2 separate regions of the Homo sapiens genome follow, and region 2 is linked to region 1. Evidence: promoter capture Hi-C in 16 types of primary human blood cells and fetal thymus (Javierre and others, 2016). All regions are on one chromosome and are shown on one strand. Each heading gives the region's core, a stretch centred on a gene start or on the middle of the fragment in contact. The rest is flanking DNA. Distances are from core to core; before and after follow the strand shown. Region 1 holds the start of MCPH1 (microcephalin 1). Region 2 overlaps MCPH1 (microcephalin 1).

The links. The method cuts DNA at HindIII sites, captures the fragments that hold promoters and counts their contacts. A CHiCAGO score of 5 or more calls a contact.
Region 2: a contact is called between a fragment that was not itself captured here and the fragment with the promoter of MCPH1 in region 1, in 4 of 17 cell types (activated CD4 T cells, total B cells, total CD8 T cells and 1 more). The highest score is 5.6, in activated CD4 T cells.

Annotation. Positions count from the first base shown.
Region 1 is chr8:6,402,184-6,407,876 of GRCh38, forward strand. It overlaps MCPH1 (microcephalin 1), which reads left to right and starts at 4,444. Exons shown (of 14, transcript NM_024596.5): 1 at 4,444-4,506. The coding sequence starts at 4,485. It overlaps MCPH1-DT (MCPH1 divergent transcript), which reads right to left and starts at 4,365. Exons shown (of 2, transcript NR_040040.1): 1 at 3,523-4,365; 2 at 1,373-2,937. RefSeq lists silencers at 4,186-4,265, 4,526-4,705. The HindIII fragment of the contact is 9,682 bases long and covers 1,502-5,693 here.
Region 2 is chr8:6,520,534-6,526,451 of GRCh38, forward strand. The region is part of intron 12 of MCPH1 (microcephalin 1); the gene reads left to right. ANGPT2 (angiopoietin 2) reads right to left here. Exons shown (of 9, transcript NM_001118887.2): 4 at 645-877. Among named protein-coding and RNA genes, the nearest start is that of ANGPT2, 40 kb to the right of the region's middle. The HindIII fragment of the contact is 1,554 bases long and covers 1,214-2,767 here.

The DNA of each region.
Region 1 (5,693 bases), core at 3,194-5,693:
GAGATTCCTTATAAAAGTTCCAGCCAAGCAAACCTAAAAAGGCTCCTGTGGTCAATTATCATTCTTGCTGGACTTATGTAAATGATCAGGCCAAATTTAATGAGACAAGACTTATTTTGTAAACAAGAGTAATCTTACTTTGTTTATCTTTGATCTCAGTGGTAGTAATTATACAGAGAAATTTTATGTTTCAATGGCAAACTATAACCCAGTTGTGTGAGTTATCAGACTCTAGTCTTGTTCATTGTCTTTGAGCAATTTTTTTACCTCTTTAAAAGCTGGATCCTGCCGGTCAGGCACGGTGGCTCACGCCCGTAATCCCAGCACTCTGGGAGGCCGAGGCCGGGGAATCACCTGAGGTCGGGAGTTCGAGACCAGCCATGACCAACATGGAGAAACCCCATCTCTACTACAAATACAAAATTAGCCCACAATCCCAGCTACTTGGGAGGCTGAGGCAGGAGAATCGCTTGAATCTGGGAGGTGGAGGTTGCAGTGAGCCGAGATTGCACCACTGCATTCCAGCCTGGGCAACAAGAGTGATACTCAGTCTCAAAAACAAACAAACAAAACAAAAAACAAAACAAAACCTGGATCCTGCCATCTTACATATTTTGTCAGTAATCAGTATTTCCAATTTTCCTCCCACTCTACTGACTTGACGTCACTGAGAACTAAAACTGATTCCTTCTCAAAGCCTTGCAAGCTGAAGCTGGATGGCTAGACAGAAACTTCAAAAGACTTATCACAACACGTGGGTCTTTCAAATATTTCCCCAGAACACCTGCATCTTCCAGACTGTGCTCTAGGAAATAACCATGATGGCAACACTACCTACCACTACCATCCTCACTAAAGATAGCTGGAGCCCAACATCTAGAAAATTTCATAACTGGCTTACCCTCTAGACTGGGTTTATCGTCTGCTCTGAACATTAATCATTGTTTTTGTTTCCTTGTTCTAATCTATGTTTTTCCCCCTTTTACAGATCTCTCATCTTACAATTTCTAACTCAAATCATCTCCCCACAGCAATCAACTTAGCTTCTTTTTTTTGTTAATGAAATTTCTAGGGAAGTTTCAGATGGAGAAATGTGTGGACCATTCAGGCCCTAAAAGTTGGTATAAAGATTATTTTACTGTGAAAATATTTGATCTAAGAAAGACGCATCAAGAAATTTTATTTGAACTTCCCTTATTTCACTAAAGCAGAGCCCCCAGAAAATACAGCTGCCATTGGCCTCCCTCTGAGGAAGTTTCCTGTAAATTCCACTACTGTAGAGACAGATTGCCCATTCTCATAAGCATCCAAAAGCCCAAAAGAACCTTCCACAACTTCCTACTGAAACTCCAAAATCTCCCAACACATTTTGTTAAGTGGATCTATAAACCTTTATTTCTATTTAGTGAGTTACTCTAAACCTTGTCTTTTCTCCTGTTAACCTGTTGTTATCAGTTAATTTGCAGGTCTTCAAACACAGGACCGACATTGAATGAGGAAAAGCTTTCCTTCCAACATAGACAATACGACTACCTGTAGAACATCATTTTGAATGTACAAAAAATTATTAAGCAGATTTAGCAAGTTTTCAGGACATGAGATCAATTGCAGATATCAACTATATTTCCATATATTAGCAACAATCAGAAACAAATGAAAAAATCACCATTTACGATATTATCAAAAAACACAAGACCTTGCACAGTGGCTCATGCCTGTAATCCCTACACTTTGGGAAGCTGAGGTGGGAGGATTGCTTGAGCCCAGGAGTTCAAGACCAGCCTGGGCAACATAGTGGGACTCCGCCTCTACAAAGAATTTAAAAAATGAATTGGGCATGGTCATGTGTACTTGTAGTCCCAGCTACTCAGGAGGTTGAGGTGGGAGGATAGCTTGATCCCAGGAGGGTCGAGGCTTCAAGATGAGCCATGATCACACCATTGCACTTCAGCCTGGGAGACAGAGTGAGATCCTGTCTCAAAAAAAAAAAAAAAAAAAAAAGAAGAAAAAAAGAAAAACAAAATAAAAAAACAAATACTTAGGTTAAAATCTAACAACAGTTATATTTTTTTTTTTTGAGATGGAGTCTCGCTCTGTTGCCCCAGGTGGAGTGCAGTGGCAAGATCTCTGCTCACTGCAAGCTCTGTCTCCCGGGTTCATGCCATTCTCCTGCCTCAGCCTTCCAAGTAGCTGGGGCTACAGGCGCATGCCACCACGCCCGGCTAATTTTTTGTATTTTTAGTAGAGATGGGGTTTCACTGTGTTAGCCAGGATGGTCTCAATCTCCTGACCTTGTGATCGGCCCGCCTTGGCCTCCCAAAGTGGCAGGCGTGAGCCACTGCGTCTGGCCAGAGAAATTTTAAAAGACCTAAATGTTAATGGGTCAGAAGATTCAATATGGTTAAAATGTCAATTCTCCCCAAATTCATCTGTAGAGTCAACACAATCTCAATCAAAATCCCAGCAGTATTTTTTTGTGCAAAATGAGAAGTCGACTCTAAGATTTAAAAGGAAATCTGAAGAATCTAGAAGATACAAAATAACCTTGAAAAATAAAGTTGTAGGACATAAACTATCTGATTTCATCACTTATTTATATAGCTACAATAATCAAAACAGCATGGTGCTGGCAGCAAAAAGACAAATAGCTCAATGGAACACAATAGGAAGCCTAAAATGAAACACATACATATGCAACACAGATTTTGATGTAAGCACAAAGGAAATGCAGTAGAGACAAAAATAACTTTTTAATAAATGATGCTGGAACATTTGGATATGTATACATGCAAAAAAATGAACTTTGGTCCCTATCCCATACCGTATACAAAAATTAATTAAAAGCAGATCTTATCCTTTGAGTCCAGTAGGTTGAGGCTGCAGTGAGCTGTGATTACACCACTGCATTCCAGCCTGGGCAACGGAGTGAGAAACTGCCTGGAGAAAAAAAAAAAAAAAAGTAGAACCTAGACCTGATATACAACCTAAAGCAGTAATATTTCTAGAAGAAATCCTAGGAGAAAATATTTGTGATCGTGGAGATGAAGAATCTATCAAATACTAAACTTTTTTTACCACCTTGACCAAAAGTAATTGGTTTATATACTTCATCATATCATTTAATTCAAAATCTACAGAGATCAATGTCACTTTCTCAGTAAAAGTACGTGAGTCTTCAATGATGCCCTGAACTCACACTCCCAAGTAAACCATAACACCATATTTCCAGAGTAGAGTTTATTAGAACAATAACTGGTGATAATGATAAATATTGATCAAAGACTGAGCCTAGGAAGTGGGTTTTTTGAGGCTGCATATACTCAAGGCAATTCTTCAGAACCACAGAGGGCTCATTGGATCCTATTAAAAGCTGAGAGTGAATGAATAAACAGATAAAACAGAGACCTGAGTAGACGGTAGTCGATATTCTTTTACATGTATTCTACCTCTAGATTCCATAGAAAGAACTAAAAGTACATGAATTTCACTACCAACATCTCCATCAGTTACCAGCTGTATCACCTTGGATCAGTCAGGTAACCTCCCGCGAATCTGGTTGCTTCCGGGGCAGGGGATCCGCGGGCTGCAGGTTTGAGCCTGGTTGCCGGCAGGGTGGAGCAGCTGGAGGGCCAAGCCTTTGAGCTCCAGGGGGGGTGGCCGGGACAGTGGGTAGTGCCAGCCGATCGGCGTCCTGGGGATTGCCTGAATGTGAGGTCTGGGTTCACCCCGCGGTGACCTGAGTCCTGGGATGCCCCTACAGGGATTTGCTGCCTCAGGGATCCGAAGTCTCTTTCATTCCCTTACTGGGGATTTGAGGTCTGGAGGTACTCCTGCGGGGGTCTGAGATCTCGGGGTCACCCTGTGGGGGTCTGAAGCCTCGGGGTCCCCGCGTGGGGTCTGAGGTATCAGAGTCCCCTCCGTTGGGTCTGAGGTCTCGGGGTCCCCCATCCCCGGGATCGGAGGTCCGGCTCCCCGGAGCAGGCAGGGCGGTGCGTCTGGCCCTGAACAGTAACGTGGCGCGCCAGCCCCAGGTGGTGTCGGGCTAGGGGGGCATAACGGTGCCGAAAGTCCGCACAAAGCCGTCCGCTGGGGTCCCGCCGCGTCCGCGAGGGAATGACTGTGCCCCCTCCCCTTCCTGATCCTCAGCTCAGGTGAGCCCAGATGAGGCGCCGGGTAGCTTCTAAGTCACTAATGGAAATAGAAGGCTAATTCAGGGGTTAGGGGCCGTCGTCCTCCTTACTCCCAGGAGAAGAGAAAAACCCACGGCCCAGCAGCCAGAGGCGCGGCGAGGCGGAATCGGGCCCCCTCCCCGGGGGCTCAGCTCCCTCCAGCCTCCCGCCTCACCTACAGAGAAATCCCGGAAACGCGGATTCAGCGGAGCGCGGTGACGGCGGCGCGCTCACCCCGCGCATGCCCAGTGCCCGCGCGCGCCGCCAGGCTCGCAAGCACCGCGTAGGCCAGCTGGCCGGATCCCGCCGTCTGTCATGGCGGCCCCCATCCTGAAAGGTGAGGTACTTCCTGCTGCCTGCTCCAGCAGCGGGAGTTTGAGGACCGGCACCCCTCGTCGCGGGCGCACTCGGGGGATCCCGTGGGAGGAGCCCCGCTCGCCCCTCCCTCGCTGCCTGTCTCCCCCAGACCCCCTGCCGCCTCCTTCCTCCCCCGCTGCCTGTCCCACCAAAACCCCCTGCTCCTGCTCTCTCCCCCGCTGCCTGTCCCCCCAAAACCCCCGGCTGCCTGCTTCGTCTCCCGTGCTCCCTGTCCCCCCAAACCCCCGACTGCCTGCTTCCTCCCCCGTACTGCTTGTGCCCCAACCCCCGTGCTGCTAGTTCCCCTCAATCCCCCGCTGCCTGCTCCCTCCCCCATGCTGCCTGTCCCCCAAATCCCGCCTTTCCCCCTACCTGCTTTCACCCCTGCTGCCTTAGTCCCTGGATCTGGGGCTCACTGGCAGGCAGAGTCCTGCCCTCCGGAAGTTGGTGTGGGGCCCTCCTGGGTCTGGTCCTGTTCGACCCCCTCTGAGGCCCACCTGGAGGAGCGGCAGTTGAGTTTCTATGCTAATTGTTCCAATAATAGGAGCCGCCTTTTACTGCGGAGTCTTTGTGTGCCAGGCGCTGTGCTTAGGCTAGTATGGTATTGTCTGATTTTTTTAACCGCTCTATCAACTCTCTTATATCATTTTACAGGCAGAAACTAAGGCATCGGACGTTTAGGTGACTCTCCCTGTGTGTGGCTAGTCAGTGCTGACAGGGCCTTAGACCGGAGCTGCTGTCCTAACCAGTATATGATACCGCACGCAGTCCCACCCTCTGTGCACCTGGAAGAGCCCAGGAGAGGGGAATAGCGGACACGTGTCTTGTAGAGTTTGACCGTGAGAAAAAAGGGGCCTGTATTGTGGGGCCTGGAGTCATAAAACCTCATAGCCAAAAGTAAAGACTAGAGGCTTTATACAAAGTCTGTAATCAGATGTGGCTATTTTTCTAATGTTAGTATTTTGTTAAATTAACCTGGTTTTCTTTTAGCGTTACCCCCAATCATTGACCAACGGCACACCTGGAAAATGCTTTTAAACATCAGGTTTTGAGAAGAGGATATCCACTAGAACAGGGGTCCACTCACTATGCCCCCCAGGCCATATCTAGCCTGCTGCCTGTTTTTGTAAGGGTCTACGAGCTAAGAATGTCTTTTACATTTTTAAG
Region 2 (5,918 bases), core at 741-3,240, 120 kb after region 1:
TTCAGGTGCCCACCACCAAGCCCAGCTAATTTTTGTATTTTTAGTAGAGACAGGATTTCACCATGTTGGCCACGCTGGTCTCCAACTCCTGTCCTCAAGTGATCTGCCTGCCTCAGCCTCCCAAAGTGCTGCAATTAGAGGCGTGATCCACCACACCTGGCCCTTCCCTCCAATATATAAGAGACGCTGCAAAGTGAAACAATAATAAGGAAGGCAAAATGTGCTTAAGAACCTGGCAAGATAAGGGAACTAGCATCTCTTAAGTGCCATTGTATTATCTCATTTAATCTTAATGGCCATCCCATGGGTCTGATATTATTTTTCCCATGTAAAACCTAAATAAATGAATATCGGCTGTGGTTTAGTAATTTGCCCAGTCTCATCCTTCTAATTAATGATGGAACTAACTAAAAGTAGGCTCTTTACTGCCATGAATCAAAAGTATGCTTGGGGTGTTTGCTTCATAATAATTAGTATAACATATATTTCCCCTTCTCTTCTTCCTTCATTTTAATTGGTAGATATTTCATATGAAATATATGAGAAATAGCGCCTTTTCTGAAAGGTGAGAATTTTTTAGTCTTTTGAGTGTTTTACTGACTAAAGGTTATTAACGCTGAAGAAAGCATGATATGTAAACTTACAGTTTGATGTGGACATCATAGTCAGTAAGTTATTAACTGTCTCCATGAGATCATGTTGCTGCTTCTGAAGAACTGAATTATTCACCGTGGCAGTCACTATTTTTTTTTCTAGTTCTTCAATGATGGAATTTTGCTTGGATACTAACACCTGTAGCTGATCTTTCTCTTCTTTTATTGACTGTAGTTGGATGATGTGCTTGTCTTCCATAGCTAGCACCTTCTTTTCTAGGAAACTTGTAAGGAAAAGAATTGTTAGTTAGTGAAGGCTATTCTAATGAAATATTTTATATTTATTGAATTTCTACTTCTCCAAGGTACTCTGTTAAGATATTGTAGTGGTTATAAAGTAATATGATGTTACCAGAGCCCTAAGGAATCTCTGAAACTTGCTGAGAAGATTAGATATATAAATGTGTGTATATATGTAAACGTATAAGCATATATGTATGTACATGCAGACTTATGCATACACACAAGAAAAGGTACCCCATCTGGTCCAGGATAGGTGGGATATGGGTGTTTTTTGTATTAGATGCTGCAGCGCTCAGAAGAAAGGTGCTGCTCTTTCAAGCTTAGTGCTCATGAAGTGCTTTTTTGAGAAGGGAGAGTTTCAACTGGGCTGGACCCTTGGGTAGGATATTAGCTTTCTCCTAAACTATTTATATTTTAATATTAATCCTAATGATAATAATAGCACTTAATGCTATGTGAGAAATACTCCTTCATGGGGAGGTGAATACTTCTCCCAGACTCAAGTACTGGCTTACCAGCCCTGCGACTTGGAACAGTTTACTTAGTCACCCTATGCGTTAATGTCCTCACCTGTTAATTAGGATACTATCACCTAGGTCATGGGGTTGGTGTGAGGAACAAATGGGTTTTAAAATGTAAATGCTGGCCGGGCGCAGTGGCTCACGCTTGTAATCCCAGCACTTTGGGAGGCCGAGGCGGGCGGATCACGAGGTCGGGAGATTGAGAGTATCCTGGCTAACACGGTGAAACCCCGTCTCCACTAAAAATACAAAAAATTCTCCAGGCGTGGTGGCGGGCGCCTGTAGTCACAGCTACTCTGGAGGCTGAGGCAGGAGAATGGCGTGATCTCGGGAGGCGGAGCTTGCAGTGAGCTGAGATCATGCCACTGCACTCCAGCCTGGGCGACAGAGCGAGACTCCGTCTCAAAAAAAAAGAAAAAAAAATGTAAACGCTTAGACTAGCGCCTGTCATACATTAACAGTCAATGAATGTTTGTTAACGTTAATATAGACATTATTATTCCCATTTCCAATGAGGAAATTGAAACTTAGGGACATTGAGGGCCAGGCTCAGTGGCTCACACCTATAATCCCAGCACTTTGGAAGGCTGAGGCAGGTGTATCACTAGAGTCCAGGAGCTTGAGAGCAGGCTGGCCAACATGGTGAAACCCTCTCTCTACTAAAAATACAAAAATTAGCCAAGCGTGGGGGTACATGAATGTAATCCCAGCTACTCAGGAGGCTGAGGCAGGAGAACTGCTTGAACCCGGGAGGTGGAGGTTGCAGTGAGCTGAGATTATGCCATTGCACTCCAGCCTGGGCAACAGAGCGAGACATCGTCTCAAAAAAAAAAAAGAAAAGAAAAGAAATGTAGGAAGAATGAATCACATACCTAAAGTCACACACAGCAGGTGGCAGGGGCAGAATACAATCCCAGAACTTTCTGACTCTGAAATCTGCTTCTCTCCTTTTAATGTGGCCCCATTCCTTCTCTAAAAAATCTAACCAGCGCTATGGCATGTACTTAATACATAACAGTTAATATGTGAGCCAAGCCCTTGAAAAGTTTTTTTTTTTCTTTTTTTGAGATGGAGTCTCGCTCTGTCACCCAGACTGGAGTGCAAGGGTGCCATCTTGGCTCACTGCAACCTTCACCTCCCAGGTTCAAGCTATTCTCCTGCCTCAGTCTCCCGAGTAGCTGGGACTACAGGCGCATGTCACCATGTCAGGCTAACTTTTTGTATTTTTAGTAGAGATGGGCTTTTACCGTGTTAGCCAGGGTGGTCTCGATCTCCTGACCTCGTGATCCGCCCGCCCCTGCCTCCCAAAGTGCTGGGATTACAGGCATGAGCCACCACGCCTGGCAGAAAAGCTTTTTAAAAATTATTTAGAGAGCTGGTAAAATTATGCCATGTAAGTCCTAAGATACTTTATTAATGGTTATATAGTTTGCCTTCCTAATTTCAACTTATAAACATACATTGCTATAAATATGTTCAATGAAGAGCATACCACTTTTAAACTAAAAATAGTTCCTGTCCATTAAGCCAGAGGAAACAAATCCAAGAGAGTAGAGACTATGTATTTGAGAATGTTAACTGTTTCCCAGGAACAAACTCAAAGACATGCACAGTCAAGGTATTTGGCAGGGTTTTTTGTTTTTTGTTTTGAGATGGAGTCTCGGAGTCTCGCGCTGTGGCCTGGGCTGTTGTGCAGTGGCGCGATCTCAGCTCGCTGCAACCTCCGCCTCCCGGATTCAAGCAGTTCTCCTGCCTCAGCCTCCTGAGTAGTTAGGATTACAGGTGTGCCACCACGCCCAGCTAATTTTTTGTATTTTTAGTAGAGACGTGGTTTCATTATGTTGTCCAGGCTGGTCTCGAACTCCTGACTTCCTGATTCGTCCACCTCGGCCTTCCAAAGTGCTGGAATTACAGGCATGAGCCACCGTGCCTGGCTGGCATTTTTTTTTTTTTTTAATAAGATACAAGAGGAAAATTGGATAGCCTGACACTACATTATTCAGCACCTAAAGAGGCTTTCTGTGATAATTGCAGGAAAAGCAGCAACTAAAGATGTTTCAATATCTTCATTTTGTTTGTACAAGGCCAGTAAATAAAGCTTTCAAAATATAGACACTTTTAAAAATAGAAAAACAGTGACCAGATGTCAGATTCCTCTCTCTGACATTTTCCTTCCAATATAAAGTTTAGTACACATGAATTTGCACATTGCAGAGTTTTGTTTTAAAGGAAGGGGACCTCATATTCCCTTTTTTGAGTCCCGTATAAGTCAGCTGTCTTATTTAATAATGAAATATGTCAATGATGGCATCTTTATGTTTCAGAATTATTTTCTGTCTACTAACAAGTTACCACAGCTTCTGTTAATGTCACATTAGAAGCTGGTGAAATATTCTATACATTTCACTAGCTTTTCTGCGAAGGCATATGAAGAGCAGAGAAACATTATTTTCCCACCTGCTTGATAAAGAAACCTTGAACCGGCCATTTAACACTGCTGTGAGTTATCTGAAGCCTCCTGAGTCACTTTGCACTTACTTTCCTAGGAACCGAAAGCATGTGAAATTGACATACACGTTTCACTGAGTGATAGTTGGGTTCAGATCACGTCTTACCTTCCGTTTAACAGAGATGTATTGAACACCTACCATGTACGAGGTGTTTTTTAGGGTTTTGGAGAAAAATCAAGAAATGAAAGCATCATGAACCATAGTCTTAAGCCTGCGGAAATTTAGATGTTTTGATGGTCTTCACATCATCAAGCTAAAAAGACAAGGCTATGAATGTCTCCCTTGAGGAAAAACTACCCTTGTGGCCATGTAAGGTCTGTAAATAGAAGTTATCACAGGGAATACATATGAAGATCATGGTTTCACTGAAGAGAAAATGGAGACCCTGAGAAGTCACCTTTGGTGTCACGAGCACCTTCAGGTGAAAGGAAGTAGCCTTAGGCTGGGAATCCCACCTCTGCACATGGCTTCCTGTGTCACAAGGGCAGACACCCTGCTGTGGACCTCAGGTGCATGTCTGTCTAGGTGAATATCTATCTAAATAAAGCTCTATGTAAAATGAAGGCATTCGATTTCATGGCCTCTCGGGCCCCTTTTAGTTCGAATGATCTGGTAAATCCACCTTTTTTTGACAGTAACATTTTCTGACTCTTTAACCCTGCAAACAATATTAACCAGCCAAGGAACTGGCTACCCATTACATATCTCGCCCATAAGCAATAACAATCAGTATTAATAATAATTATTAGATATTCAATTGTAGCTCTTAAATGTATTCCAGCCCCCTGATCGTTGTAAATTAGTATGTAATTTTGGAGAGATGGGGGTCTGTCTTTGTTGCCCAGGTTGGTATCAAACTCCTAGGTTCAAGCGATCCACCTGCCTCAGCCATCCAAATAGGAGGGATTACAGGTGTGTGCCACCACATCTGGCTAATTTTTGTATTTTTTGTAAAAATGAGTTCTCATTATATTGCCCTGGCTAGTCTCAAACTCCTGGCCTCAAGAAATCCTATCACTCTGGCCTCCCAAAGTGCTGGGATTATAGGCATGAGCCACTGTGCCTGGCTTGAATCTATTCTATAAAGAAAGCAATTGCACTTTTGGGGAATTATAAAAGATTATTTAAAATGTGGTTTGTCCAATGTGAAACACCATTTGCATATTTTTGTAATGATATACTTGCAAATAAAATCATAGGCCAGTCAGAATTAAGGTAGAAAACACAGCATGCAGAACTCATACACCTGTAAAATCATCAACACTATTTTCTTTTTTTATTATTTATAGCTGTTGATGAAAAAAACCTTTTTATTTCCTTTCATATCTGTGACAAAAAAATACGATTTCTACAGCTGATGAGAAAAAGCTTATTCTTCCTACAGGCATAGTTGAAAGCCAATATGATTGGAAAAATATTTGCAAAGATGATATTTGGGGAACATAATTGACCCAAATTGGTAGTTTTAGCATTGTAGCATGCTAAATTTGAAACCCAAGTGGGGAAACAGTATTCAGTATTAGGGTATGTTCTACAAACTGGACATATCCTAGGTTTGTCACGGACATCATTGTATAACAGGCAAGAGAAAAGTAATCTCCAGCTCCCATGTGTTCCAGGAATCACTGCAGCATTTTGAAGAGAACATTACTAAGTAAGACTATTTTAAGAAAACGACGCCAGGTACGGTGGCTCATGCCTGTAATCCCAGCACTTTAGGATGCTGCGGTGGGCAGAAGGCTTAAATTCAGGAGTTTGAGACCAGCCTGGGCAATATGGCAAAACCTTGCCTCTACTAAAAAAAAAAAAAAAAAAAAAAAAAAAATCAGCTGGGTGTGTGACACATGCCTGTAGTCCCAGCTACTCAGGAGGCTGACATGGGAGAATCACCTGAGCCCAGGAGGTTGAGGATGCAGTAAGCTGAGATGGCACCACTGCACTCCAGCCAGGGCAACCAGAGTGAGACCCTGTCTCAAAAAAAAAACACAGAA